Linked DNA regions of Homo sapiens: region 1 is linked to region 2. The links are contacts of gene promoters, found by promoter capture Hi-C in human tissues and cell types (Jung and others, 2019). All regions are on one chromosome and are shown on one strand. The core of a region is centred on a gene start or on the middle of the fragment in contact, and the rest is flanking DNA. Distances in the headings are between cores, read along the strand shown. Region 1 overlaps ST6GAL2 (ST6 beta-galactoside alpha-2,6-sialyltransferase 2). Region 2 holds the start of ST6GAL2 (ST6 beta-galactoside alpha-2,6-sialyltransferase 2).

Evidence for each region. Contacts are between HindIII fragments. The study calls those that stand out against the background at their distance.
Region 1: a fragment that was not itself captured here is called in contact with the fragment with the promoter of ST6GAL2 in region 2 in 1 of the 25 tissues and cell types used here (liver).

The regions. Positions count from the first base shown.
Region 1 is chr2:106,836,969-106,841,905 of GRCh38, reverse strand. All of the region lies in intron 2 of ST6GAL2 (ST6 beta-galactoside alpha-2,6-sialyltransferase 2), which reads left to right. Among named protein-coding and RNA genes, the nearest start is that of ST6GAL2, 47 kb to the left of the region's middle. The HindIII fragment of the contact is 5,765 bases long and covers 1-4,629 here.
Region 2 is chr2:106,882,469-106,887,490 of GRCh38, reverse strand. ST6GAL2 (ST6 beta-galactoside alpha-2,6-sialyltransferase 2) reads left to right here and starts at 1,324. Exons shown (of 6, transcript NM_001142351.2): 1 at 1,324-1,398. It overlaps LOC124907864 (a long non-coding RNA gene), which reads right to left and starts at 958. Exons shown (of 2, transcript XR_007087169.1): 1 at 384-958. The HindIII fragment of the contact is 7,907 bases long and covers 1-3,388 here.

The DNA of each region.
Region 1 (4,937 bases), core at 498-2,997, 46 kb after region 2:
CAAGATGGCACACAACATTAGCCATCACTATTTCTTCCTAGTTTTCAAGTAAAATACCAATTCTAATCTTTTTTGATTGATGGGGCCATGGCAGGGTTCAAATACGTTTCCCTCCTGCAGAGTGGTGTAGGTTCTGCACCAGATGGGCCTGCATTGGCTCTCCTCAGAATTCCCCTTCCTCGCTGGATCACATTCATTTCCCCACCTGCCCCAGACTCTCACCCTGTCTTGCCAGAGATACCCAGGCTCTTGTGTTGCCATAGCTGGGCTCTCCCTCAGCAGTTTCAGATCCCTTTGCTCCCGGAACCCCCCTTCTTCCCAGGCTAATTCCACTGCTAGACCAGTCAGCAAGCAGCTTGGCCCTTTAGGCTCATTCATTTGACAAATATGTGTTTAGCCCCTAATATGTGCTTGATTCTGTACGAGGAGCAGTAAAACAAATGTGAGTCAAATACAGCGTCAGCCTCAAGTCCAGATATAAAACAATCATGTCCTGTACACTCTCACAGTAGGCGTTGTTAGGGCATAACTGGTCTGGAAGTGACATTCCGGGAGTGTTGCTCCCTCTTTGCAAATAAGTAATCTTTGTTGTCTTCATTTTAAGCGGATCCATTAGTTGTTCTGTGTCCTTGAAGAGTGGCCTATGTTCCAGAGTTCTCTCGGAATAGGGTGAAGCCACTGTAGGCAGGCTCAGAAGCCCAGATCTCAGCTCAGCAGAAGTCCTTGGGCATGAGGCTGAATGAGAAATATTTTTAAAGTTAAAAAAAACAAGACAGTGAGTCTGGAATCAAGGTCTGGGGTACCTGTGTCCCTGTGCTGACATTACAGCAGGCTCATAATAACACAGTCCATGTGTCATATAAGCTTGTAGCCAAAGCCAGAGCAGAGCAGCCTGCAATTTATTAAGAAGAAGCAGTGGTTTAGAGGTCCCCGGGGTGAAATAACACCACAGTTCTTTCTCATTTCTGAGAGCCAATATTAATAATGTGGAGAAGGAATTTAAGTATTATGCTTGAAGCAGGCAGTAACTTGCTTCCGGTTTGGTTTTGTTTTAAACACCTCTGCATCAGAGGTGAAGATCTGGATTGCTCTTGCATGTCAGTGGGCAGTCCCTCGTTCTTTTTTTCTGCATAAATATCCCTGACCAGAATCTTGTAAACTCTGTTTACAATTTGGAAGAGAACGTGAAAGACGCTGAGAAGTCCATGTTTCTGGGAAACTTGAAATGCCAGTTATATCTTTGTTAATTTCTAGTATCCAAATCTAATTTATTTGGCATGCACTTGCATGAGCCTTTATGATTAGAACTGTAGAATCACAACTGAAGAACATGCCTGGAAATTTCTTTAAAATTCTCTTTATTGTTTTGTCTAGGGTTGTTTGGATCAGATTTTGTATCTACTATTTTAAGAACATGTAACCATAGCATGGCTCAATTTGTATAAACAAAAAGTTTCATTTGTATAAGTTGGTATCTCAGCATCAGCAGTGTACATGCCAGGTGCCGACCTCGCTCCTTCCTGTTCACCTGAATATATGCAAGCAAACCCACATAGTTATGAATGGCTTGCAGAATACAAACAAACTCTGGCAGCAAATTCCTTCAGGCAGCTTAGAATATTGGGGGCATGGTGTAGCGAAATTCTTGTTGGCCGCTAAGCATCTACTTGTGAATTGGCTAAATGAAGATCAAAAGACTTACCAAAGATCACGATCTTATGAAAAATTGAAGGCAGAGCTAGGAAGTGTCTCAGATGATCACTGCTTATCAGCCCTACCTATGTTCTGCCAGGAGGAGCCCTCTCCATGCTGACGTCAAAGGGAGACCCAGTCAGTCTCAGGTTTGCTTACTGGCTGCCCTTTCGCTCCCCCTGGTGTTTGCTCCACTGGCAGTGCAGCCCCCATCCCCCTACCCTTCTGTTGGAACTGGGTCACACAATGGAATTGGTTTTGGTTAGAAAAGTAGAGCAGTTGTAAACACTTCCACTGTGAATGTGTTATTGAAAAACAAACTAATTGTTTTGGAAACCTGGATCATTCTTTCCTAGAGTTATAAGATGATCTGTTTTCATCCATGCATATAAGCAATAATAATTTGCTTCTATGCAGTGCTACTAGCATTCATGTGGAAACATGTTACAGAGCAGAAAGGTCTGCTCTGAACCACCAGTAATAGCCTTCATGTGGGAAACCAAGATCTGTGTACCTGAAACTCGAATTCTGGCAAGTGCATGGGAAATGGGACATGGAGGGAGAGACTGGGGGTGGGATGCATAGACTGGTGGAGAGGGCTTGAGATTTGACATGTCCTGTTACCTTTTAAAAAAGCAAGAAAGAAGAAAGCAGTCCATATACTCATCCAATTAGCATTATTTATTGATCACCAACTCTCCACCAGATCCTAGGCTAGACACAAAAATGAATAGGTCACAGGCTCAACTATCCATACCGGCACACTTCAGTGGTAAACAGACAATTCCAGTGTTGTGGGTTGGAGAAGGACAGAGAGATATGTAGGCTGACAAGGCAGAAATGACAACGGATTCCTAACTCCCCTGAGGGCTGGTAGAGAGAAGAGATTGGTAAAGACTGCTCCAGGGAGAGGAGACCAAGCTGAAGGCCCAGCATCATATGGAAGTGAGAAACAGCATGTTGTGCAGGTGGTGAGAGCTACAGGGAGTACATGGGCTCGTAGGGACAGAAGAGAGAAGCAGGCTTGGAAGGCAGATCATCTTCCTGGATGCCCTTGCAAGCCACTCTATGAATATTAGACTTCACTTAATTGAAATCAGGTACCACTTATATAGTACAGACAAGGCCCTGTTCAAAATGCTCTTGTTTTTTTTGTTTGTTTGTTTTTTTGCTTTTTTGAGATGGAGTCTCCCGCTGTTGCACAGGCTGGAGTGTAGTGGCACAATCTTGGCTCACTGCAACCTCCACTTCCCAGGCTCAAGCTATTCTCCTGCGTCAGCCTCCCGAGTAGCTGGGATTACAGGCACGCGCCACCATACCCGGCTAATTTTTGTGTTTTTAGTAGAGATGGGGTTTCATGATGTTGGCCAGGCTGGTCTTGAACTTCTGACCTCAAGTGATCTGCTCGCCTCGGCCTCACAAAGTGCTGGAAGTACAGGTGTGAGCCACTGTGCCCAACCCAAAGTGCTTTTTATGTGCTAACTGTTGTAAACCTTACAACCCTAAGTGATAGATAACTTTGTTCCCATTTTACAGATAAGGAAATGAAGGTACCTCCAGTCACATGTGCAGAGTCTGGATTCAAACCCCAGTCTGGGTCTCCAGAAACACTAGCTCTCAGCCCTGTGCCCATGATGTGCAGCCATTGCAGATAGTCACTGTAGAGAGATCACTCCAGAGCCTGGACTTGAGGGTGCAAGGGAAGTACATCAAGAGGTGAGGGTTACAGGTCCTGGGGAGAAACAGGGCTCCCAGGGTGATGGAGCTCCCAAAGCGATGCTTTGTCCAATCCCAGGCAGGCCATTCTCTAGTGACTGGAGGCTTGCTCTCCTGCTGTTTGAATTTTCTCATCAGTGTAGGAGAGGGGGATGATGTGGTGAATGGGGCCTGGGGCAGGGCGGTGACCGGGTGCTGGCCCAGCAGCTCCTTGAAGGGCTTTAATTTTCCTTCCATGGATGCACTTGTCTGGCTCCATTCTCAAGGACAACACAGCATGGTTCTGGCCTGGAAATGCCTTCTCCAGAAATGGAACTTGACTTTCTTCCCCTTGTATTTGCTGTCTGACCTATTCCTTTTTTTCTAAATATGAATGGACAGCTTCTATTCTCACAGTGCATTATCAAGGAATGCACAGCCAGGTGTACGTTTACAGAACGTGTCTGTGTGAGAGACAGTCTCAGCGCACCCTCCCCTTCCATCCCAACCCCACGCTGCTCACAGTGGCTGTTCATAGAGGGCTTGCACTGGGCCTAGCCACAAGCCTACATGACCCTGCCTCCCTGCCCTCTCCATGCAGGTGGCCTTTTAACTCTGCAGACTAATACCACCTCCAAAGGAATTACACTGCGTTATCTTTCTGTGCCCTGTGCCTCGTGAAGTCCTTGGATGGTTTAGAGCACAGCTCCACAATAAGACAATGGGCATTTAAATGCTGGGATGTTTTCAAGGGTGATGCAATTAATTCAGATTTATTAGTCAAATAATAGAAATGCACCCACCGCTTGAGGCCCTTGGGTAGGCTGTGTCTGAGGGGTGGGTAGCGTGGTTTGGAGAGAACTGAGATTGAGGATTGCTGGCATCACACTTCCTCTCTGGCTTAGGGCTGATTCCCTCCCAGCACCTGCAGTCACCTCGCTGGTGGAGTCTCCTCTCACTGTCTGCAACCAGAGGGTTTCCCTAGCTTAGCAGTGGGAACAGTGAGATCTAAGCTTACCCTTAGCCTTTGCAAGACCCTTTCGAGGGTCCATGAGAAAAAACTATTCTGGTAAGTATACTCAGAGTTCTTTTCCTTTCAGTTGTTGACATTTGCACTGGTGGTACAAACACAATGAATGATGCATGAGACAGGGGCTTCTTAGCACAAGTCAGGGCAGCAGAACCCAAAGCTCAACCTTTGAATACACGTGTTTTTCAGATTCAGTGGGGCACATGGGGAAATAGGAGAAAAGCACTTATGTGTGCCAGTTCACAAAGGAAAAGCCCTTGGGTAATTGCACTGTGAGCCGAACTAGCCACTTTTTTCATGAAATACAATTTTAACTTGAAAAGAAACGTTAATTATTCAGACTTGGATATTTGGCAGATATATTCTCAAAAAGGAATCAAGCGAGCCTGTCACTTTTAGGAAAATAACTGATAGTATTTGTTGCCAATGATAAAATTCAAGCTTTGAACCATGAACTTGGAAGTTTTCCAGACTTTAAAAACTGGGGAACTCCATGGTGATACTAATCAATGTGGTGTTT
Region 2 (5,022 bases), core at 75-2,574:
CTGCTTCAACCACTTGTCCCGCCGGCTTCTACCCCAAGAACTTTCCGTCCCTCTTGGGGTTGGGGACCGGCAGTGTGGAGGGGCGGGCAGGTGGGGGTCTCCAGGGAGCACCGTCACCGGACTTGGCGAGCTACCCTTCCCAAATGAAAGGTGGCCCGCTCCCAAGTCCATCCCATATCCTTAGAGAAGCTCTGGGAGCGAGGGCCAGGCGGCAGTGCGGAGCCTGGTTGAGCGAGATGAACAAAGGGAGCTAGCGAGCCGGGGAGGATGCTGCGCTCCCCTGCGCCCCACCCAGCCGGCTGCCAGGCGCTGCCAGGCGCGCAGGTAGCCCGGCCTTCCGCGCTGGCGGGGGGAGGTGTTGGACAGGGTACACAAAGACTCACTTCCGCCGGGGCAGGCGCCGGGACTCCCTCCTGGCCGCCCACAGCCTGTGCGCATTCCTGCATTCCTGCCGCCGCCCGGGACCCGAGTGCCCCGGAGGTGTCCAGGCGCGGTGCCAGGCGGGTACTGTGCAGGTAACCTTCGGAAGAACTAGGGCTGGATGGAGGCGGCGGCCGGGGAGAAACACGCCTTTTTAGGCAGCCGTGCTGCCCCGCACCGCCCCACGCAGCCCAAGTCTGCAGTCACTCTCCGCGACAAGCAGAAATCCGCGCGCAGCCAGGGAGCGCCCCGCCTGCGCTCGCCGGCGGGCCGAGCTGCCGGGCCGGGGGCGCGGGGAGGGGGCAGCCCAACTTCCCAGTGCCCGGCTCCCGCCAGCTAGGTGAGCCTGGAGCGGGAAGGATGAAAGGGATCGCGGAGAGGGAGGGGGCTCTGGGGCGAGCGGAGCTCGGGGGCGGGGCGCGGCGCAGCCTCGGTGCGTGGGCCGGGAACCGCCGCCTCTCCCCGGGGCTCGGGGCCGCGGTTCCTCTGGCCGCGGGAGCCGCCGCCGCGCTGCCCGAAACAATGAGGCGTGCAGCGCGGGGCTGAGCGTAGCCTCCCGCCGGCTTTGAGGCCGAGCCACCCGCTGTGCCCCGCCGCCCGCGCTTGCAGCTGCCGCCGGCGCGGAGCAGCGCTGGCCCCGGAGAGGTGATCCCGCAGGCCGCCTGGGACGGGAGCGCGGGGCAGCTCCGAGACCCCACGGTGGCAGGAGGAGGACTCGAGCCTGCGGCAGGACGACTCCCGCCGCGCACTCGCCTTCTGCAGCCCCCAAGTTCCGCGGCGTGAGTCGGGGACCCCGGCCAGGGTCCCAGCTCTAGCGGGCGCCAGCGTGAGTGTGGGAGCGCGTAGCGCGCGCACCCGAGCGGCTGCCGGGGAATAAAATGTGACACGCACGCCTTGGACTCCAGTGCCGCGCTGCCAGGGGGAGCACCGAGCACCACGGTGTCGTGCGCTTCGAGGCGCGGCGTGGGAAGAAGGCTGGTAAGGGAGGGCACTGGGTAAGGGTTGGCGACGCCTTTCTTGGTGGCGCTGCAGCCTCCGCGCTGCTGTGCGCGGAGTTACACTCCGTGTTTAGGAGCGAGACCCGTGTGTGGGGAATGTTGAAGGTGGTTTGGGGAAAAGCAGGAAATTCTGGAGAAGCGAACGGGAGGACGGCTTGCGCTTTGGGGACGGGCGGATACAGTTGTGCCCCTGTGGCTCAGTAAAGGTGATCTTTTATTTTGGCTCTTTTGGCTCTGGAAGGGAGTGAAGATTTTTGTCTTTCTTCAGCCAACCCCCGTACAAAACTGCACTTCTTAAAGGTTAAAGTGTGTTCTGTTCATTTCTGGTTCTCTGTGGCTATAATGTTTGGGGTAGTAGGGATCTTTAGAATCCTAAATACCCGAGTGTTAATTCTTATGTAGTTGGCAGGCGGCAAACTCCGCTTTTGGGTTTACTTTCCGCGGTGTTACGGAGTGGATATTTGATGCATTCTTTTGAGTAGGGAGTGTGACGTCCATCTCATTCGGATTTGCCGGTTCTGTGTTGGGGGACTGAGTGAAGTTAAACTCAATGGCTCCCGCAAGTGCTGCCTTCCAAAGAGCTGAATAGCTGTGTTTGGAGAAGCTGTGCTTTCCAGGAATTTAAATGAGACTTTTTGTGATTGCCTTCCAGGTCTCTCCTCCTAGTACCATATTTGTTTTGTCAGGCTGAACTTTCAAAGCTGTTTTGTAATCTGAGAAGCACTTTTGGGGGGAAAGTAATGCTTGGCTGGATTTTTGTGAACTTATTTTTATTGGACATGCGAAAAATTTGGCGAGAGGCAAACCATATTTGGTTGAAATCATTGTCTTTTGCACCACTGCCGTTCTGACCATAAAGGGGCATGCTGACCCTCCTCGCCGAGGACTGCCTGCTTGGGTGAGGGGGGTCTTTGGTGGGCTGGAAGCACATTTTGTATTTAGAGAACTTTCTGCACACTTGAAAAACCCCATGCTGGTTACTTTGATGCTTCCCTTTTTTGAAATTCTGATCAACATTTTTTGCCAACTTGAAATATAATTTATGACCAAGGAAGAATTCCAATAAAGTGAAGTGCTATATATATATGATGTATATGTATATACATACACATATGTATATATGTGTGTGTGTGTATGTATATATATATATATATATATATATATATGCGCTGCAAATTTAGGGTTAAAACTTTTTTTAAAAGGAAAACTGATGTGTGGCCTTGAACCTGTTTTTACCCACTCTCCTTCCCCCATTATTTTTCTGGAACTGACAACCAAAATTTTTATATACCACTTGAGGAATTTTGTACTAATGCATTAAAAGAAACTGTTGGCAAAGGTGAATGGATATTGTGCTCAAAACTGATGAAAGTCTAAAATAATAGGTGAAGTGCCTTGAATTTTACTGCAAAGTTAAAAAGGCACTCTATCCAATTTTTGCCGCAATAGATACAAATGGTAGCATCTTACATTTTTGCTTGGTGCTGTGAAAGCTTCTGGAGTTTTGAGTTAAATGTCTTGTAGAGATTGTGATAGGAGTCACTGCTTTATATGGAGTACTGAGCTCCACAGTTTAGAGAGGCTTTGGATGGATACTCCTGGAAAGAGTGAGGTCAGAGCAAGGACCAACATTTGGTGAGTTTGCTATGTGGTGCACAGGATCTAGGAAGCAAGGATACAAAATTCAGGATTTTTAGACTAGAGGATTCAAAGTTGAGACAATTTAACATTTGAAAATATGTGAATGATTTATTATGCAGAAGAGGGCAGTTATCTGTGTTGAGTTTCTGATGAGGATAATTAAGAGGGAAAAGGTTTACTCTGTGGGGTGAAGACATAAGTTGAGTCTAGGGAGTTGTGGCCAATCCAGCCAGCAAAGATTAAATAGCGAAGGGACTGCTGAAAAAATTCCTGTACGTGCTTGTTTCTGGAGGTTCCACCCCCCCACCCCCGAGTTTCTCTTCTTTCTGAGATGATTTCAGTGTGTGAGGCTCTGGTCTATTGCTTATACTGATACTGACTGAAATTTTACCCTCCAGGTTTAGAATTTATCCAAGCATTTCTCAAATGATTAAATCTTTTCTGAAAGACAAACTGATTTCTAGGCTTCTGCCACTCCTTCTTAGGTAAATAAATGATAGGTTCCTTTCCAAAAACTTGGAGATATTTGTCCTCTGGGAAGCTCTTAATTAGTTTGCAGATTGCTACCTCATGGGTGAGACTTTGAATAAAAATATCTTATGCATGATAATAAGGACAGTCTTTGTTAATGCATTTGCTCTTTAAATGTATTGTGTTATTCCTGATTGATTGAGTTTTTTCTTTTCCTGGATTTTCTGTAATATGATCTTAAAATTTAATTGCTTAAATTAAATTAAGTACTTAATTCAGCATGCATAAATGTCTAAGGGAATCAGATAGTACCCTCATGGCAGGTGTATGTTAAGCTTTGATTTTCTAAGCATTGAAATCTGAAATCTCATCCCTTAAAAAAAATGGGATGAAATTCCCAAATGACTATAAAAGTAACAATTGCATATAATTATATACTAATTTTGGAAAGTGGAAGGGAAACACAGATGCATATTTGCACAGAAATTTTCAATGTTCTTACACCAATTTTTGATATCAATGCCAAACACTGAATGGGCTGTAGATGACCAGCCACTGTTAGTGGATTACCACATTTTCAGTTTAATATACCTACCATTTTTCCGAAAGCTCTCCTTCCAACTTTTGAGAAATTTCTTTCTAAATGTTATTAAGTACACAATGCGAAGATATCAGTGTTAGAGAAACACGGATTTATTATGCCCCTTACAAAATTTGAAATTTACCCTTGCTTGGTCCCAGCCACCTCCCACCCCTCCCATTGAATTGATAGGGGAACAGTTGCAATTCAAAATACTTGGCATCTACCTAGTCCACAGGTGAAATACATTTAAAGGGGATGAAGTATGACCTGGGCAGTCCTAAGGCTTTGCAGGAGTTGGTGATCTGGTCCAGCTCCAGCATTGGTCCTAGCCCTGGTGAAAGCAGGGTCCCAGCAGTTGTGACTATTATCTTCACTTTGCCACCTGCAGGTTCCTGATTATCCCACAGTACCCAGGGCCTACTGGTTGGTTGGGAGAATTGTTCTGTGTATGGAAATGACATCAGAGGCATGCTGCCCACTGCGGAGGACTTCTATCTGGACGGAACTGTTCTGTGCCATCCTGGCTTCTGCTGCCCTCTGTGGTCTTGTCTAGGGAAGAAGTCCAAATTGAAGGCATGCAGTGGCTTTACAAAGCTAGAAGCATGTGAAGGCTAGGTTTGTAGTTTTGCACTGGACTTTCTTAGAGAGCAAAGGAAAGCTATTGGCCAGTGCTTCTGCAGCGACCAGCACTGGAGAAAGACAGCCTTATCAGAGCTCAGTTTCCAAGGCTGGAAAAGGAAGGCTTATATTAAATCCTTTCCCACATGTCTTCTGGTGTGAGATTCCACAAAACTGATAATTGTAAGTTGTGGCATACTTAAAAGCTAATTCCTGTGCAGCCTCAGGAGATGGTAGTAATTCAAAGAATAATAATAGTAACTAATTTGCACTTATGATGTACTACATCCT